Linked DNA regions of Homo sapiens: region 1 is linked to region 2. The links are contacts of gene promoters, found by promoter capture Hi-C in blood cells and fetal thymus (Javierre and others, 2016). All regions are on one chromosome and are shown on one strand. The core of a region is centred on a gene start or on the middle of the fragment in contact, and the rest is flanking DNA. Distances in the headings are between cores, read along the strand shown.

What was found. The method cuts DNA at HindIII sites, captures the fragments that hold promoters and counts their contacts. A CHiCAGO score of 5 or more calls a contact.
Region 1: a contact is called between a fragment that was not itself captured here and the fragment with the promoter of RBM15B in region 2, in 6 of 17 cell types (naive B cells, total CD4 T cells, naive CD4 T cells and 3 more). The highest score is 8.0, in naive B cells.

The regions. Positions count from the first base shown.
Region 1 is chr3:51,798,107-51,805,489 of GRCh38, reverse strand. All of the region lies in intron 2 of LOC105377087 (a long non-coding RNA gene), which reads right to left. Among named protein-coding and RNA genes, the nearest start is that of IQCF6, 23 kb to the right of the region's middle. RefSeq lists an enhancer at 2,879-3,630. The HindIII fragment of the contact is 7,978 bases long and covers 1-7,383 here.
Region 2 is chr3:51,386,664-51,393,606 of GRCh38, reverse strand. RBM15B (RNA binding motif protein 15B) reads right to left here and starts at 2,322. Exons shown (of 1, transcript NM_013286.5): 1 at 1-2,322. The coding sequence starts at 2,207. MANF (mesencephalic astrocyte derived neurotrophic factor) reads right to left here. Exons shown (of 4, transcript NM_006010.6): 3 at 5,729-5,870; 4 at 4,210-4,702. The coding sequence ends at 4,518. RefSeq lists enhancers at 1-307, 308-813, 2,799-2,848 and silencers at 1,709-1,768, 1,879-1,958, 1,999-2,478. The HindIII fragment of the contact is 3,377 bases long and covers 1-3,261 here.

The DNA.
Region 1 (7,383 bases), core at 2,483-4,982, 410 kb before region 2:
CTGATACAGTCTTTTATGAAAACAGAAAGGTCGGGCTTGGTAGCTCATGCTTATAATCCCAGCACTTTGGGAGGCCAAGGCAGGTGGATCATTTGAGCCCAGGTATTCAAGACCAGCCTGGGCAACATGGCAAAATCTCATCTCCACAAAAAATTTAAAAATTAGCCAGGGCATGGTGGCACACACCTGTAGTTCCAGCTACTCAGGAGGCTGAGGTGGGAGGATTGCTTGAGCCCAAGAGGCAGAGGTTGCAGTGAACCAAGATTGCACCACTGCACTCCAGCCTGGGCGACAGAGTGAGATCGTCTCAAAAAGAAAAGAAAAGAAAAGAACAAAAAAGAAAGGACCAAGGCCACATTGCTCTTGAGGGCCCTCTCTGTACCCTCTTCTCAGGCCCTGACTGGCCCTGGACATGCGTCCCTTGGCCCTGATCCTTTGTCCTTGGGTCTGTTTTCCTTTCTGTCCTTTTGTGGCACTTGAGGATTTATCTCACATCAAATCTAGATGCTGCCTAGCTCTCCAGCTCTCCTCAATGCTTCCCAGGGAAGCAAACTATTCCTCTTTATTTTCAAGGTTTCATACATGGGGAACAAAAAAAAAAAGTGGGCATTGTAACGAAGTTTACAGCATTCATATAGTACTGATTCCCAAACCCTTGCTCCTTACTGCACATGAGACAGTATAGGAAACCCAGGTATTCACATGCTTGTTTTAATATGTCAGGGCTGATGCATCTGTTTCCTTCCAGAGGAAGCCAGAAACCTCAAGATTAGCTGTGACAACCAGCACCAGGGGGAGGGACAAGTCCCACTAGGACTTCCTGGCAGACCAGGTTCTCCTGGACTTCACCCACCCATCTATGTGTCCACCATGGCACTGTGTCATAGCTGTGGCAAGACATTCAAAAGGAGATTTTACTTTATTTCCCTTTATTACAAGAAGGATGGCTTTTCTTGGGCTAGCTCACATGATGGACGGCCAATACAAGATCAACACAAGGAAGAGGGCGTTCTGGAGATGCAGGTTTAAAAAGTCATAAAATGGGCCGGGTGCAGTGGCTCGCACCTGTAATCCCGGCACTTTGGGAGGCCAAGACAGGTGGATCATTTGAGGTCAGGAGTTTGAGACTAGCCTGGCCAACATGGCGAAACTAAAAATACAAAAATTAGCCGGCATGGTGGCACGCACCTATAATCCCAGCTACTCGGGAGGCTGAGGCAGGAGAATTGCTTGAACCGGGAGGCAGAGGCTGCAGTGAGCTGAGATTGAGAGATTGCACCACTGCACTTCAGCCTGGGCAACAGAGCAATACTCTGTCTCAAACAAACAAACAAGTCATAAAATGGAGCATCTGAAAGACTTGAATGGAATGCAAGGTAGCTCTGGGACTCCTCAGGACTTTAGTGGCATTCACTCTGGGCTGGTCTCTCCAGTTTGGCTAACTTTTTTATGCTCTAATTGTTCTTGTTACTACCATTTTTTCATGATCTCCATTGTCTTTGTTTTCTCTGCCTTGTAACATTGATGGCTTCATAATTTTGGCTGGTCATGACCACTATGACCCCTCATGCATCTATGCATATGATCCTCAGCTCTGCCACTCTCTGCCCAATTGTCTCCATTTACAATTCATACGTGTGTGTGTGTATGTGGACAAGATTTTTCAAATATCCTATTACCATTTTTCTGTCTCCTTGATCCATGAGTGTCTGAAATAGGTATAAATGTAGAATTATCTACTTTGTAACTTTGTAATTTTTTTTTTTTTTTTTTTTTGAGATGGAGTCTCACTCTGTTGCTCAGGCTGGAGTGCAGTGGTGCGATCTCAGCTCACTGCAAGCTCCACCTCCTAGGTTCACGCCATTCTCCTGCCTCAGCTTCCCGAGTAGCTGGGACTACAGGCACCCGCCACCATGCCCGGCTAATTTTTTTTGTATTTTTAGTAGAGACGGGGTTTCACCGTGTTAGCCAAGATGGTCTTGATCTCCTGACCTCGTGATCCGCCCACCTCAGCCTCCCTAAGTGCTGGCATTACAGGCATGAGCCACTGTGCCTGGCCCTTTACTTTGTAATTCTATCAGCCTTTTTATTTTCATATTTTGAAGTTATGTTGCGTACATAAAAATTCCCAAGTATTATAGCATCTTAGAGTAGTGTTCCTTTCATTGGTTTACAACTAGAATTGGTAAAGTTTTTCTATAAAGAACCAGGTGGTAAAAAGTTTAGGCTTTGACAACCATTCAGTATCTGTCACAACTACTCAACCCTGCCATTGTAGCTCAAAAACAACCACAGACTATATGTAAACAAAGGGGAGTGATTGTGTTCCAATAAGATGTTATTTCTAAAAACAGGTGGTGGGTTCAGCTGGCCTGCAGGCCATAGTTCGCTGATTCCTTGATTCCTTTTAAGATTTAAATTATATTTTGTTGTGGTAGTTTTCTTTGGTTGGAAATTTGCCGGATATATCTTTTTTCTATCCTTTTGTTTTCAAACTTTCTGTGTTACTTTGTTTTAGATATATCCCTTATGAACATTATATAGATCTATTAAATGTAATCTATCAAACTGCTTTTTAATTATCAAGTTTAACTCATTGAACTTATTGTGATTACTGATCTATTTGGACTTATTTTCATCCTTAGTCTGAAGATTCAGGTCTGTCCCACCACTGGGAGGGTAGGCTAGACTTCAAATTCAAGACACGACAGACTTTAATCTAGCACTATGTTTCCTTAGCCCTGTAAAAGATACAGGTCAGGAAATGAGCTTCACTCTCCTCAGGAGTCCCAGCAACTACTTAGAATGCAGATTCTGATTCCTCCCTAACCCCACCCACAAGGGGCAAGGAGGTGTGTAAACATCTGCCAGGAACGAGGTCCAGGTGTGTGCAGTTCCTCTTGCCACAGGGAGCCACTGCCTCATTTTTCCACTGGTCTTTTTTATCATGCCAGTCACACACGCACACCATCAGCATTACAACTTACAGCTCTCCCAGTTCAGAGGCTTCACGGTAACCGTGACAGATAACTGACCCCCAGTACGTGGCCTTCTGTCAAGCACACACAAGGCACACAAGAGAAAACGAAGGCCAAGGTCTAACCGATCCAATCGAGCCACTTCAGACTGATTGTTTCAATTACTCACATAGATAGAAAAAGGAAGATTAGTCAAAAGTGCCAGCTCCCTGTGGTTCTTGTCTCACACAACAAAAGGAACAACACAAAAGGGATTCGATGACTACAAGGCAAGTCGTGGGATACCCTGTTGCTGTTGAGCCAAGGGGGTCTAGACTGCAGCTATGTGGTTTTATATTCTGTAGCTCTATTCTGAGGGGCACGAGGCAGAAAGCCCCACACCTCATCAGGACTGGAGAGGAGAGAGAAAGCTGTCTCATGACAGCCTCCCAAGGGAGATAAGGGCCTCAGAGCATGCCTTACAAGCCTCCCATCCTCTTCTGTTCCAAGGGGGATCAAGAAGTGTTCTGCCAAGACTCAGATTAGCTGTGGTTCAAGCCTTCGCCTTTGCAGGGGGTGTAGATATATGCAAGGTTGCCATGGCAAAGTCATTCCCCTGCAACTCCATCCCTTGACATTCATGTGTCCTACTAAGAATTCTCAGGAGTGTGGGTCACCCCATCAGATACCCTAATTCATTATACAGATTAGGGCTTGAATAAGTGCGTTTTGTTTGTCATAGACAATGAGGTGTGTGACCATAACAATGACTCTTAATACTGTGATCAGGCTGACTTAGAGTACTGACTGCAGCCAGGCTTTCCATCTGGAGCCAGGCTAGCTAAATATGTCATGAAACCAGATGCAGCAAGAGGTGTTGGCACACACCCCCACCTCAACTGGCTAGCAGGAAGCCCAGGACAGCGCCATTGCCCATCACCACTTACACTACAAAGTTTAGAACAATTTGTAGACTGTTAAAAAAAAAAAAAAGAATCTAACAATAACAAAATGAGGCTAAAGGGAATCATATCAATGTCCAAAAAGGTTAATCTTGTTTTGTCATCTCCAGTGGAGGCTGTTTCTTTCTGGCTCTTGGGAGGTTTCCAGAGTTTTTAGATTAAGATTCTTCAATGAGAGTGGTGGCCGCAATTAAGTGGGGCCCGATGACCTACAGACAGGAGCTGAGAGAGATAGATGGTCCCTTCCTCCACCTCTGACGTTCAGGGTCTAAAGTGCTGTCTCTTGTTTAGCTTAGTTCAGCCAGAATCCAGTTCAGCAGGTTCTCCCCTCTGTACCCCATACTATCCTAGAACATCTCCCACCTCCTGACAGGTGGGCTGCAGCAGAACCACCGTAGGCACTGTTACCTCATATTGATGATCTGACTCTTTCGAAGAAAATGGTCTCAGAGAAAACCTGAAAATCACCTTTAGAAGCAGGAAAGGATGCAGGAAAGTTCCAGGCCTGCTTTTGCCCTTGACTCACAGGGTCCTCCCTCACTGCTGGAAAATCTTCAACCGTTCTCTCTAGGAATTTCACATCTGTAGGCCACATCTTTCTGACTCCAGCCCCTATCCCTCTCCCCCTCCCTTACTCTGCTCTGCCGTACCGGCCTCCTCCGTGTTCTTCAAACATGCTGGGCACGTTCCTGCTTCAGTGCCTTGATGACTGTCTCCCAGGTGGCTGCTCAACCTCCTCCCTCCCTCCTTCACCTCTCAGTGAAGTCTTCTCTCACCACAGATAAAATCAAGACCTCCTCTCCATGCCAGAATACTCTATCTCCCTTCCCTGTTTGATTTTTCTCTATAACAAGTATTACCATCTCAACATTCTCTATATCACTGCTACTTAAGTTCAGGAATCTTGCCTGCCCTTTTCACTGTTGGGAGCCCAGCCCCTATAACAGTGTCTGGCACATAGTCGGTGCTCAATAAACAAGCATTGAGTGAATACATTTGGCCTAAGCCAGTTAAATAAACCTCACCCACACCCACAGCACAGACTACTCAGCCTTAGGCCACAGACAAATGCCTGCCCTTGGCCACAGAGCCTAGTCATGGATTTCAGGCTACACTAAGCTCAAAACTTTTGTTCAAAGATTTGTTCATTGATTCAAAAATTATTGAACCATGCTATGTGTCAGGTACTGTCACTGGTATTTATTAAATAAAAGAATAAAACAGGCAAAGCCCTCTCCACATAAAGGTCACATTCTGGTAAGAGAGACAGGCCAATATATGTGCTTTCCATGAACTGGGAGAGATGATCATTTGTGACTGTGCTGCACTGACAAAGCATGTATGGATCGCATTGTCTAGTTCTAACAATGCTAAGCCTTACCAGCACAGGCAAGGGGATTAAAAAGATTTCCACAAAAACCCCTAGGCTGAAATGCACAAACAAGAAACCCTGGTGCTGATATTTTTCTCTCCCCTAGAGGGAGCTCCTCATCAGTCAAATTAAGATACTGTGGAAATGCTTTTAGAAAACAGATGTTTGAAATGTTTCCTTCTTTATGTGATTCTGTTGCCAAAAGGAATGTGACTCACTCATAACAACTCTCTCAGTCGAACACCTAAAACTTTGGAAATAGAATTTCCTCACCTACTTATTACTTACAAAATCATTGTATTGGTTTTGGACCCAGTTGTTAAAAATATAAAAATGCAACAACTTCTGACTGGTTTATAGAACAACTGATTATCATTAGGGAATATGAAATTTTTTTCACCAGACTTCAATAAAAACCTTTGCATAATTGGTGGATGCAACTGGAAGTGAATGTCTTGAGTTGGAAGACAGAGCCAATCACGCCATCTTCCCTCTGCATTGCAGGTCTTTGTGAGGGTCTTTTCCAGTTTCAACAGCCATTACAACCAACATCCAGGAACCGAGTTTAAACTTCAGACCAACAGGTCACTGTAGGACAAAAAGTTAAATCCTCACTCTCCCATGCCTCCTCCCTCCCCAACAAAAAACATAAGAGGAAAAACTAAACACCAACTCTCTGTTGATGTTCTTTGACATCAACAGACAGTTCATAGAAAACAAAACAGCTGGGGAAAGAAAGACTCTGAACATATGCAAGGATGCTCAACTTACCCATAAAAAAAAAACAGATTGATAACAGGTCCTTTGTGTTGGCAAGGATAGAGAGAAACAGGCAGTATTATATGTTGTTGGTCAAAATGTAAACTGGCAAAATTTCTTTGGATAGCAATTTGACAATAGCCATCAAAACTGAAAATGTACAGACCCCTTGATCCAGCAATTCTACTGTAGGAATTTTTCTAACCAAAAAATCCCCAAAAGTTGGCACCCTTTTAATACTAAAATAAGATGAGAACAGTGCAAGAAGAGAAAACTATCAGCCAATCTGATTTATGAACACAGGTATAAATATTAACAAACTGAATCCAATGGTGATTTCAAATAATGCTTGAATGAGTAGGATTTATTCCACAAATGCAAATATGTTAGTCATTCATCTTAACTACAAACATAAACAGATCCATATTTACTTAAGCAAAATAGAAGTGTATTGAAACAATATTTAGTAGCTCACCAAATTATCAGAAAGCCCAGGGACCAGGCTCAGAAAACAGGCAGATCAAAGAGAAGTTATGCACCCAGAACCACAGAAAACATCATACCACAGAACCAGCCTGCTGAGGATTCCAGCACCAACACAGGGGTTGCTATCCTGGTTCTCTGGATCCCAAGCTGCAGACTGAAAATTCTCAGCACACAAATTTGATTGGCCAATCCTGGTCACATGTCTGTCCCAGCAGCCAGGGGAGCTGAGAAAGTGAGAAACTGGTATTTTCAGCTCTATAATTAGAGGCAGGCTGTTTCCCACCCAGACAGATAAGAAGGAGAGTCCCCAGACATGGGGAAGGGAATCAGGTGTGTTTGGGCTCAGAAAACAACACCCCCAAAGTATAGCTCTTTGCCGTACTAAGCACCTTGAATGAAAGGCCTCCCAAGCTGCCTCAGAATCAAGGTCTTTGATCTTCCGTTGTTTCTCCCCCCAAGTGCGGGAAGGGGCTCTCTCTGAGTTCCTTTATCTGACTGAGGGAAGTTCTTTTAAAGAAACACAATTGCCTTCAATCCACTGTTTGAAATCAAATTAAAAAGGGATAGTTACTCACTGAAGAAGAAATTAAAGATCATCTGCATGAGCAGACTTTTCATCTGTTCTGAGGGCTGTCACCAAGAGGCTTTATCTGCATAATAAGACAACCTTTGGCTGGGCGTGGTGGCTCACGCCTGTAATCCCAGCACTTTGGGAGGCCAAGGCAGGTGGATCACGAGGTCAGGAGTTCAAGATCAGCCTGACCAACGTGGTGAAACCCCATCTCTACTAAAAATACAAAAATTAGCTAGGCATGGTGGCACGTGCCTGTAATCCCAGCTACTCAGG
Region 2 (6,943 bases), core at 1,073-3,572:
GACGTGGGGAAGCAGCTGTTTTTCAACACCAGAAGCCCATTCCAACCCAGCTGTAGTGTCTGAGCGTACTCTGAAAGATTCTTCAGCTTTTTGGTCTCGTGTTTTGGCTCTTCCAGAGGCTTGGGCTCGGCCTCTGTGGTCCGGTGATTGCGCTCGCTGTCTCTTGCCTTCTTCCCGTGGGAAGAGTCTGCAGCCTCGTGGTGGTGGTGGTGGTGGCCCCGTTCCTCAGCCCCATGTCTGCTGTTGCTGAGGGAGTTGCTGCTGGACTCCTTGGTCCCTTCACTGGAGTGGTTCTCCTTGCGGCTGCGCTCAGGGGTGCGGTCGGAGCCCCGCTCTGACTGCTGCCCACTGCCCTTGGTCCTACTCCGTTCCTCATATGGTGAATGGGTTGTCCTCCCACGGTCACTGGAAAGGCTTCTCCGTTTCCGCCTCTCTTCCCAGGGCTTGGGCAAACCACGGTCTCCATCTGCCCCCCAACGCTCACCACTCCGGCTGCGCACTGAGCGACTGTAGCCCTCAAGGCTGTTTCGGCGGTCAGAGCTTTTACTGGGGCTGGTCCAGTCCCCTTCCAAAAAAGTCCGGTCTCGGTCTGAGTACAGAAGGTGTGGGGGCGTCCTGTCCCGCACCAGGTCGGCGTCCAGGTTGCGGTGCCGGGTGTATCCATCTGTGAGCAGCTCATAATGCACAGGGAGTGGCGAGGGCTGGTACTGCTGGGGGTACCGAGTCTCCTCTGCTTTGGCAAAATCCACGCGGAGCCTGCGGTCTGGTCCACCCAAGGGAAAACCCCTCATTTTAGCACAGGCGGCCTGGGCTGCGTCCAAGCTCTCGTACTGAATATAGGCAAAGCTATCTCCTTTGACGTGATCAATGGTCCGAATGCTCCCAAAGCGGTCAAACTCTCGGGCCAGAGCCGCCAGTGACGTGTTAGGTCCCAGGCCACCCACCCAGAGACGAGTGGTGGGGTTGGCCTTGCCATAGCCTATCTTAATGGGGTTGCGACCAATCACTCGGCCCGACATGGCCACCTTAGCCCTATGGGCCATGTCCAGGTTCTGGAACTTGAGGAAGGCATAGGCACCGCCCTGGCCACGGGCAGGCCTCTTGATGACCACCTCCTCGATGATGCCATATTTCTCGAAGGCCCTTCGCAGCTCCACCTCAGATACGCTGTGGTCCAGGTTACCAATGAAGAGGTTGCGCGTGGCCCGCTGGTCATCCTCGGGCATCAGGTCCTCCTCACACACAGCTGGGTAGCCATAGGGGCGCCCACGGTCGTCGTACAGCCCGTAGTAGTCCAGGGCCCGCTCCCGGGACAGTCCCACGGCGGCGGCAGCAGCGGCATCCAGGGCGAAGGCTGCGGCGGCGTGACGGGCACGGGGCTCCCGCAGGGGCGGGGCAGCGACGGGGGACAGCGAGCGCTGCTTGTACTGGTAGCCTCCGTGTAGCGGGAGGTAGCCGAGCGGGTCGGCGGGCGCGGGCGGCCCTGGGGGAGGCGTGGAAGCGGCGGCGCTGCTGCTGCTACTTCGCCGACTGCTCCCGCCGCCGCCACGCAGGTACACGGGCTCTACCTTGAGCGGGCGGTCGTAGAGCAGCAGCTGCCGGGCCAGGGCGTGCTGGCGGGCCTCGCGTGCGTCCTGTGGGTGCCGGAAATTCACGTAGGCCACACGGCCCAGCTCAGGCGTGTGCGACAGGCGGAGGCTGATCTCGCCGAAGCGCTTGAACTGGTGGAAGAGCCGGTCCTCGAGGTGCTCGGCGGGCAGCGCGGGGCTCAAGCTGCTGATGAGCAACGTCTTGTACTCAGGCGCGGCCGCGGATGAGCCGGGACACGCGGGCTCGGCCCCAGGCGGTGGCGGAGGCGGCGGCAGAGGAGACGCGCGGGGCGACATGCCGGAGGCGCCCGGGTCCCCCGAGGCCTTGCCGCCGCGTCCCCCGCCGCCAGCGCCGGAGCCCGAGGAGCGCCCGCTACTCGCGCGGTGATTCGCGTCCCCGGTGCCGCGGCCGTCGCGATGCCCGCCCCCGCCGCTTCCGCTGCCGCGGGGTTTGTCGCGGGCCCGCGCTGGAACCGGGTGCTTGGCGCCGCCAGAGGCCTTGTGCGCCGCCCGCCGCCCGCCCGCCTCCGCCTCCCGTTCGCGCTCCCGCGGACGCTTGGCGGACGATGACGAGCCGCGCCCGCTCGGGCTAGAGTCTCGCTCGCTCTGCCGCTTCATGGCGCTGGCGCGGCGGGCGGGCGGCCCGTAGGTTTCTCACAGCGGCGGCGGCGGAGGCGGCGGCCGAGGAGGCAGCGCCCCCGGCGCCGCCATCTTGGACAAAAGGACTCGGCGCGGCGGTGGCGGCGGGGCGGGGCGGGAGCGGCGCCGAGGGGCCGGGCATTGCGTTATCAAGGTGCGCCGTCCTGCCACGTGACTCTGCGGCGGGCGGAGCAAGACCCGCGCCGGGCCTGCCTCATCGCGCTGCGTCGCCCAGTGCCAGGTGACCCTGTGAGTGCTGGGTGAGTGGGACCGGCCGCGCGCTCTGGCGCCACCGCGCGGCCCGCATGGCCGATGCTTGAGGCTACGCGGAGTGTAGTGAACCCTGAGAGGCCGGCGAGACGACCTAACGCTTTGTGCTCCCAGCCGTGCTTTGCCGCTCTGGGTCCAGCTATCTCCTCTTGCAGGCACTGGAGCCCGCGCTGATTGGAGCAGGAGTGGCAGCTTCCATGGCCGTTGGGATCTGGGGCATTGACCCAGTCAGTGGTCTCTTTATGTAGTATCCCCTCAGTCCTAGGACTAGGCTTGAGCAAACCCCACATCACCCTCGTTGGCATCTCCTGCCTGGGATCCGGCGTTGACGGCGCCAAGGACTAATGCATGCCTATCCTTAGACCCTGCCCAGGACCCAAGGCCCACATTCTGCGCATTCTCCACGTGCAGGTTCACCTGCAGCAGTCCCCGAAAAGGCCGTGAGGACAATTGCTGTCACGCAGGTAATAACCGAAAGCAGAGACAAGCCTGCAGTTGCAGTTGATGGAGTTGGAATAGACTCTTTAACGCCACTCTTGGGTCCCACCCTCTTCTGTGGGCAGATAGCAGGCTGGAAAGGTAGGGCCGTAAGAGCCAAGGATGAAGAGGCCATATGCACAGATAGTGCCAGCAGTTATCACACCTTGCCACGCTGACCCCTCGCTGGCCAGTACCCTCCTGTTCATCACCTTCAGGACGACCTCTTCTCCCCAGGTGAGGTGAGGGAAAGGGTGCCCAGGTGCTCAAGCCCATTGAGGAAGCTTTCATTCTCCAAGGACAGTTGCTGGAGCCATGGTAGAACCTGACCCAATTTCTGGCACAGAATCCTTGCGATGGGGAAGAGCAGACCAAGTCATGCCCTCTTCGCACAAAGAGAAAGCAGCTCCTGGAGTAGCTCAGGCAGGTGCAGGGGGAAAGGTCTTGGAAGAAAGCAATGGGTTCCACAGCAGCAAGGCCTCCTACAGGCAAACTGAGCTTAGGAGACACAAGTGAAGTGATCTGAGGCAAGACCAATTACTTGGAAAGCACTGGTTCTTAGTCCGTCCTTTCAGGTGGTTTCTACAGGTGTCTTCATTGAGCCACAGCTCACACTAACAACTGGGTTTCCTAAGCACCAGTGCCACAGAGAGTGGCTTAAGAAGCAGACTCCAGCAAAACCCTGGACCTCAACTGTTAGACTAATCTAGGGTAAACAAAGGCAAAAGGCAGCTTCCCACTCCCTCTTTGTATAAGCTGACTCCTGCCAGACTTGCAAAAACTGGAACAGACATCAGAGGCTTGGAATGGACAAAAGAGCAAGTAGGTGGCCAGGCCAACAGCATCTTTATAGAGATGTCAGTGCTGACGTGCACTGATTGAAGATATCCTTGTGGAAAAACCACACTCCAGACACCCTGTCTTGCTTGTACTGAGCCACAATATAAGGCCCTCCAATGTATCCCAGACTCACTCCTCCTAGAGCTGTGGCCTCCAGCTCTCTTGGGCGGGTAAGACAGATACTGTATCAAGGGGCAGGGTATCAAGCGCAGCACCCCCCGCCCCCGCCACCTCCTTTCTGCTGAGTGCCTGCTGCCCTCTAGTGGTACACACCCACACACATCAGCTGGCCCCAGCCCCTATGTCCTGCTCTGGTATTTTCAGCACTGGTGGGTTGAGAGATAAATGGGAATGAATAACCCCCCAAACTCTGCAACTGGAAAGCAGAAACTGGTAGGAGCCTCCTGGGGCAAAACCCCATTTTGGTATTCACTATAATTCTGCAAGGACAGCTAGAAATTTTTTTTCTTTAATAAAAAAATCCCAGACACACTTTGAAGTCCTAGAGTACACCAGCAACAGAAGGAAGGGAATCCCCTCATGGGGGTACTGTAGGGCCAGCATCATCAGGAAAGCTCCAGGCTTCACATCTGATACAGTATTGTCAGGAGCCCACTTAAAAAATAAATTACAAAAAGGCTGTTTTGGGAGTAAGCAGTTGAACTGTTTTTTCCCCCTCAGGTGCAACAGAGATTGAGCAGACTACAAATCGGTCCGTGCACTGGCTGCCTTGGGGGCATATTTAGGCATCAGTTCATTTATCTTCCGGATGTAGTCAGACTTTTCTGCACAGCCTTTGCATGTCTCCCCCCAGTCATCCAGAATCTTCTTCAGCTCTTTAACTCGGAGCTTCTTCAGGTCCACTGTGCTCAGGTCGATCTGCTTGTCTGGAGGAGAGAGCAGGGAGAGTCACTGACTGGGTGGAGCACCTGCAGTCCCCCAGTAGTCCCAGAGTATGTCACTCCCTGAACGGCCAAACCAGCCCTACTGGTTTCAGAGGAAGAGACATTTCCAGACACATTTACAGGCATGTCAGTGCCTACTGCCCCCACAAGAGGGAACTAGCCTCTTCACCAGGAAGGCTGGCTACATATTATGTCTACTACAGATATGCAGCGTGAACAAGGATAGGGACAGAGGCCACACTGTCCTTATAGGAGAAACATGGTTCCCATCTTCCAAGTGCCTCTGACATAGTCACCACATACTAACAACTCCAGGCTGGTGCCAAAGAGCAGCCCTGCTCAGGCCTTTGAGTTAGGAACTTACTCTCCATGACCACAGTGACCTGGAGCCAACTGGACCTGTACCAGGAAGACGCAAGTAGGTGAACACAGGTCCTTGGCCATTCAAGTTTTTCAGAAGAGGCCCTGACTGTTTCTGAAGACTGGGACTATGTACACCAGAGACCCAGTCAGCAAGAGAGATGCTGTAGTTCCTAACTCTTGGGCTTGCATGCTTGGACATAGTGTTTCTTTTCAGAATAGTAAAAATCACTGGGGCTTCAGAGCTTGCAGCCAGAACCAGCCTGTTAAACCCAAGTCGTACTATGTCCCTTCTCTGCTGAAAAACTCCTAATGCTCCTAACTTCACGCAGATTAAAAGCCCTCACCAGCCTGCAATGCTCTCTGACTTGCCATGCCACTGGACACCTTTATCCTGCCTGTATCCTCTTCCATTAGCTGGCCTCTTGGCTAATCCTCACCTCCTTCAAAGTTTGCTGAAATATCACTTCTTCAATAAGGCCTATTCTGACCTCCACCCACTTCCATGCCAGAGCCCTCCAGCATTTAGCACCATCTGTCATACAATACAACCCACTCATGACTCTAGCTCATCATTTTCCTCTCCCAGATGGGAAACAAACCCAGAAGGTGCACAGCATTCATTAAGAAAGGACTAGGCATACTCACCATACTTAAGCTCACATATCTGGCTGTCCTTCTTCTTAAGCTTCTCACAGATCTTCTCCACAGGGATGTGGTGGGCCAGAGGCTTTGATACCTCATTGATGATTTTGGTGGCTGCATCATCTGTGGCCCCGATATAGTAGCACTGGAGCAATAAAGGACAATGGCCTTCAGGAGGTGCTTGAGAGCCATCTCCTCCAAACATACTGACACCTTGAAACATCATCTCTCTGTAGGGCCTTACTTGTGTTTTGAGATAGGGCTCCCTGTCACCCAGGCTGGAATGCAGTGGCATGATCACGGCTCCCTGCAGCTTCAATCTGTTGGGTGGTGATCCTCCCCTCTCAGCCACCCTAGTAGCTGGGTCTACCGGTGTGGGCCACCACACCCAGCTAACTAAAACAATTTTTTTTTTTTTTTGAGATAAAGTTTTGCTCTGTCACCCAGGCTGGAGTGCAGTGGCGCAATCTTGGCTCGGCTCACTGCAACCTCCGCCTCCCAGGTTCAAGCAATTCTCCCTGCCTCAGCCTCCTGAGCAGCTGGGATTACAGGCGCCTGTCACCATGCCTGGCTAATTTTTGTATTTTTTAGTAGAGATAGAGTTTTGCCATGTTGGCCAGGCTGGTCTTGAACTCCTGACCTCAGGTGATCCACCCACCTCGGTCTCCCAAAGTGCTGAGATTACAGGTGTGAGCCACCACGCCTAGCCTAAAAATTTTTTTGTGCAGACAGGATTTCACCACTTTGCCCAGGCTGATCTCAAACTCCTAAGTTCAAGCAATCCTCCCACCTTGGCCTCCCAAAGTGCTAGGAAGACAGGCATGAGCCACCGCACCTGGCCCACAGCGGCATTTTTCGGTGCCCTGCCTGTACTGGTAGTCAGATTCAGCCAGTGTAAACCCTGGACTCTTAACACATGCTCAGTCCAAGCTGACAGCCACCAAATGAATTTAAGTGTCACCAGGGTTCAAACCTTTAACAGAGAGAAAAGCCAGAGACTGTCAGAGAAATTCAAGTTAGAAAACCCATTGCTTCACTAGGGCTTTTGTCTTGGATTCGGCCCTTGCCTATCCTGTAGGCACCCTGTCACCTTCTCCTGTCCACATACATGCCACACTCTTTCAGGCCTCTGGGCACTCACACTGCTGTTCCCTGTATGGGATGGTCTTACCCCACTTCAATGATAACCCTTCCTCAGAGACTTCTTGGCCACTCTAA